Linked DNA regions of Homo sapiens: region 2 is linked to region 1. The links are contacts of gene promoters, found by promoter capture Hi-C in human tissues and cell types (Jung and others, 2019). All regions are on one chromosome and are shown on one strand. The core of a region is centred on a gene start or on the middle of the fragment in contact, and the rest is flanking DNA. Distances in the headings are between cores, read along the strand shown.

Evidence for each region. The method cuts DNA at HindIII sites, captures the fragments that hold promoters and counts their contacts. A contact is called where the count stands out against the background at its distance.
Region 2: a fragment that was not itself captured here is called in contact with the fragment with the promoter of MGAT3 in region 1 in 1 of the 25 tissues and cell types used here (hippocampus).

The regions. Positions count from the first base shown.
Region 1 is chr22:39,455,566-39,458,265 of GRCh38, forward strand. It overlaps MGAT3 (beta-1,4-mannosyl-glycoprotein 4-beta-N-acetylglucosaminyltransferase), which reads left to right and starts at 1,447. Exons shown (of 2, transcript NM_002409.5): 1 at 1,447-1,992. RefSeq lists silencers at 1,373-1,432, 2,163-2,432, 2,443-2,572. The HindIII fragment of the contact is 12,980 bases long and covers 1-2,700 here.
Region 2 is chr22:39,135,370-39,138,069 of GRCh38, forward strand. All of the region lies in intron 4 of CBX7 (chromobox 7), which reads right to left. Among named protein-coding and RNA genes, the nearest start is that of CBX7, 16 kb to the right of the region's middle. RefSeq lists an enhancer at 1-710. The HindIII fragment of the contact is 3,206 bases long and covers 1-2,700 here.

The DNA.
Region 1 (2,700 bases), core at 197-2,696:
TGCCCGGCCCATGGAGATGTTATAATGGAATGTGCTTAGAGTGATAGGAACTAGGAATGGATCTTACACTTTCAAATGGTTGGGAAAACATCAAAAAATGTTTCTGGACACGTGAAAATGACACGAAATTCAAATTTTTGTGTCCATAAAGTTTTATTGGAACACCGCCAGGCTCATTCTTTTACGTATTGTCTATGGTTGATTTTATGCTACGATGGCAGAGTTGAGTAGTTGGGACAGAGACCATATGGCTGGCAAAGCCTAAAAGATTTACAATCAATCTCTTAAAGCAAATGGTTTGCCCACCCTTGCTTAGAGAGAGCCTCCAGGAAGAAAAGAGCAGTGAGGGTGACGTTGAAGAAGGGGGCAAGACTAGGTCACCAGGGGCTCCCTGTGCCCCGCCCAGGCACTGAACTTAAGCTGAGGGCAAGTGGGAGCCATTGAAGGTGCAGGCAGGAGAGTGACCTGCTCAAGTGAATGTTGGAGTAGGATCACTCTGCCTCCTCAGCAAGGATGGATGAAGCTGGGCACGGAGGCACCTGGAGCAGGTAGACCAGCCCTAGGCAGCCCGGATGGTTCAGCAAAGGCCTCTGGGACTATTCTGGAGCACATTCGCTGGGATATAGAATAGGTAGCGCATCCCTGCACCTTCGACGATGGCGGCGCAGAGATGTCTGCTGCGTACCCACAATGCCTTGTGCCTCGCACCGCGGGAGGAAGTGGCTGCTCTGTAGGCCCCAGAACGGAACCACTTGAAAGGCGGGAAACACGTGGGGGACGCCTCTGAGCCCTGAGAGGAATGGCCTAGAGCAAGGCCACGAGGAGCCAGGGCACGACACGGTGGGCCCTCGGAGAACCGCTGGTGGGCAAGTGGCAGGAGAGTAGGCTCAAGAGGGTTGGCAGGGCCGACCGGGCCTAGGGTGGCCGGGTGAGGGGGGCGGGGGAGGGGAGGCCCCCCCAGTTACCCCAGGAGTGCGCAGGTGGCTTCGGGCATGTGAGGGACGGAGGGGGTCGGACGGAAGGACACAGGCCGGTGTACAGCGGTCACCCACGCCCCAAGCAGACACACAGACTCTGCAGACACCGTAACAGGCCCGGCACCGTGCACACATCACAGGCCCAGGCCTCTGCACATGGTCACAGATGCCTATGCGAAATCCCGGCCCAGGTTCACGCGGGCACAGGCGCATCCACGCACACACCGCAACACGGATCTGCACGTCCATGCACACACAGGCACAGACTCGGGCACACGGAGTCACACCGACCCGGGCACGCTGCGGAACGCACCCGTCCACGCATACACAGAACGGGACTTGCTGCCCCGCACGCACACCAGGCCCGCACTCCGAACTACCCGCATTCCCCGCACACGCCCCCGCGCAGGCCGCCCCGGGCCGTGGGCCGGCGCACGCACGGTCACAGGAGGGGCGCGCGCACACTCGCACTCACACACACTCGCTCGCACACGCACACACTCGATCCAGCACGCGCGGGCGGCGCGGGGCGGCGGCGGCCGGAGTCTGCGGTGCGAGGCGCCCCCGGCCCGGCGCGGCGGCGGAGCCCGGCTGGCGGGGGAGGGGAGGGGGTTGCGGAGGGGGCGGGGTGGGGGCCGGAGCCGCTTGAGCCGGCGGGAGCGGGCACCCCTGCGCGCCGCGCTCGGCCTCGCCTCCGCGCCCCCCGCGCGCCCGCCGCGGTCCCTCCCCCGCGCCCGTCCGCTCGCCGGGCCCCCGCCGCCGCCCCGGGGTGCAGCCGAGCGGCCGCGCCGGGTCCCCGGGACGGGGTGGAAGTGGGGGTGGGGGGAGGGGATCGGGGCCGGGCCGGGGCCGCGCTGCCTGCGATGCCGGGCGCCCGCCGCAGCCGCTGCCGCCGGAGCCCGGGATGGGGCGAGAGGCTGCGGCGGACGCCAGCATCTCCCCGCCGGGGACCCCGGGGGCCGCGGAGCCGCCGCCGCCGCTGCTGCCGCCGTTGCTGAGACCCAGCGGGCGATGGGTGAGTTGACCCCGGCGTCCTGGGGGGCGCCGCGGCCCCTCTATCCCCGCGCTGCCCGCCCTCCCGCGCTGCGCTTGGCGCCCCCCGCCCGGCTCCGCGGCCCACTCCCCGAGCGTGACCTTAGGGGGCGGGCGCGGGCGCACTGGGGCTGGGGGCCCGGAGGCCGCGGTGGGGGCGGGATGCCGGGGAAGCCGCTCGGCGCGGGCCCCCTCCCCCTACCCGCCGCTCCTCCGAGCTCCCCGGTCCCCGGAGGGCAGAGCCTCAGCGCCCGACCCCCTCCCACGGCCGGGCGGGGGACGTCCCCGAGGCGCGGGGCTCGAGCCGTGCTTTGTGCGCGGCACCCCCCAGCCTCCGGCGCGGCTCCCCCACAACCTCCGGCGCGGCGCGGGGCTGGGGTGGGAGGCCTCCGCGCCCGCCTTCCCCACCCCCGACCCCAGACTGCGGCGGCGGCAGCCGAGGCCCAAGCGCAGTCGGGGGCTGGGCGGGTGCGGGGGCTGCGGCCGTAGCTACCCCTGGGGACCAGGCAGAGGCAAATGTGGAGAGGGCCCCCGGCCATTTACCGGGGTGGGGGCCCCCGGCTCCTTGCATTGCTCTGCCCAGGGCGGGGGAGGGAACCTGGCTGAGGGAGGGCGCTATAAATATCTGCAAATAGTGAGTTCTGGAACCGGGAGTGGGGAGGGGAGTGCGCCTGGGTGTGTGTATGGTGGG
Region 2 (2,700 bases), core at 120-2,619, 320 kb before region 1:
AGGGCAAGTCTGTCCACCCCTGGAGTTTGTAATGTCGGGATTTATCTTATTTACTTGGGGAGAATTTACATGAATCTACAAAAGATTCATGGTGCCAAGATGTTGGGAGACTCTGGATCACTGGGACAGTACCTTCTCCTGCCACCTGCTACCAGAGGTCAGGAGCTCCCAGGAAGATAGTGCAGCCATCAGATGGGACCTGTGAGGTCAAACACCTCCAAGCTGAGGGAAGGGATGACACACGCAGGTCCCACTCACAGTCGTGCCTGTTAACGGCATCACATGTCCCCAGGTGCCGGCTGCTGCAGTGATGGGAGGAGGGCTAAACTGGGAGGGGACTGGGAAAATACTGCAGTGCCTGGGAGGCACATCTGGTAGGCAGCTGACTCAAAACCCACTCCTCCCAGCGGGCTCACAGGCCATCAGAAGCCTAGTATGGGCCAGGCACAGTGGCTCACGCCTGTAATCCCAACACTTTAGGAGGCCGAGGCAGCTGGATCACCAGAGGTCAGGAGTTCAAGGCCAGCCTGGCCAACATGGCGAAACCCCATCTCTACTAAAAATACAAAAATTAGCCGGGTGTGGTGGCAGGTGCCTGTAATCCCAGCTACTTGGGAGGCTAAGGCAGGACAATCATTTGAACCCAGAAGGCAGAGCTTGCAGTGAGCAGAGATCGCACCACTGTATTCCAGCCTGGGCGACAGAGCGAGACTCTGTCTGGGAAAAAAAAAAAAAAAAAAAAAGAAGCCCAGTACATTCTACCATTCTGCAAGGCAGGGTCTTCTACGTCCTTGGCAACCTCATCACGAGAGAACTACAGCTACTAAAGGGACGCGGGTGCCAACAGTCAGGTCCTGGGTAAGCTACCGGCCTCCCTGGGCCTCAGTTTCTTTCTCAGCGAAACAATGAAGAGACTGTAGGAGCCAGCCTCCGAGGAGGGCCCCAACCACACCCACCTCCTGGAATTCACACCTATGCGCCGTCCATTCCCACACCCAGTGCTGTGTTGTGTGACTTCCCAGGCTAGGGCATAAAAGACACTGTGGCTTCTTCCCTGCTCTCTCTCTCAGGTCACCCACTCTGGGAAGCTGGTGGCTGCACTGTAAGGACACTCAAGCAACCCTCTGGAGAGGTCCACATGGTGAGGACCAGTCCCTGTCAACGTCCAGCCCTGACTCGATGGCACGTGAGCAGCCCCCTCGGAGGCAGATCCCGCAGCCCTGGTCGAGCCTGCAGATGACTGCAGCCCAGCCAACACCTTGACTGCAGCCCAGACTAGAACCACTGAAGAACCAGCTAGCACAATTCCAAATTCCTGACCCCCAGAAGCCATGTGAAATAATCAATGTTTATTGCTTTGAGTTGCCATGTTAGAGGGGAAGAGATAACGAACACACCTGCCCTGTAGGCTTAGTATGTGGATGGAGTATATTCATCTGTGAGGCACACTGGGCAGACAGCCTGGCACACAGACGTCCAGGAGATGTTACTTCCCTTCCTAGGCTCAATTCATGCCAAACCCAATGGAACATGCCCACTGCATGAAGGGAGGCCCACCCCCTCTGGCGAAAGCCTCCATGGGTTTTAATCAGGAGTGGCCAAGGACGCTTGACATGGACCACATACAAGTGGACCAAGAATCCTGACTTTCTGGCTTCCAATATCCTGCCTGGTGGGTCTTATTACATTAAGGAGAGCGGGTATTCTCTTCATACCCATTTTACAGGTGAAGAGGCTTACCTACAACCACACACAGGCAGAGCATTCCTTATCCGAAATGCTTGGAACCAGAAGTGTTTCAGACTTCGAATTTTTTTAGGATTTTGGAATATTTGCATTATATATACTAGCTGAGCATCCCCAATCCAAAAATCTGAAATTTAGACTGCTCCAATGAACACTTCCTTTGAACATCATTTTGGTGCTCAAAATGTTTTGGATTCTGGAGCATTTCAGATCTTGTTTTTCTTGTTGGGGTGGGGGGGCGGGGCGGCAGGGGACGGAGTTTCACTCTTATCACCCAGGCTGGAGTGCAATGGTATGATCTTGGCTCCCTGCAACCTCCACCTCCCGGGCTCAAGTGACTGTCCTGTCTCAGCCCCCTGAGTAGCTGGGATTACAGGTGCCCGCCACCATCCCCAGCTAATTTTTGTATTTTTAGTAGAGACAGGTTTTCACCATGTTGGCCAGGCTGGTTTTGAACTTCTGACCTCAGGTGATCCACCCGCCTCGGCCTCCCAAAGTGTTGGGATTACAGGCATGAGCCACCGCACATGGCAGCATTTTGGATTTTGGATCAGGGAGACTCAACCTGTGACTGCACTGCTCCAAGATCCACGTCCCTGTCACTGCAAAGCACTGAGGTCAGGAAAGGCCCCCAAGACCTACGACGTGGGTACTCCGGGATGCTGCAGAGACTTGGGTCCCCAACTGACTGAAGGCTGGAACAGGAGGCCCACTCAAAAATGACACACTTCTAGGGGTCTGACATTCCAAGGCTGTAGTTCTACAATTCTAAGATTCTGTTTCTGGCTGGGCGCGGTGGCTCACGCCTGTAATCCCAGCACTTTGGGAGGCCAAGCCGGGCGGATCATGAGGTCAGGAGATCGAGACCATCCTGGCCAACACGGTGAAACCCCGTCTCTGCTAAAAATACAAAAATTTAGCCAGGCGTGGTGGCGGGCGCCTGTAGTCCCAGCT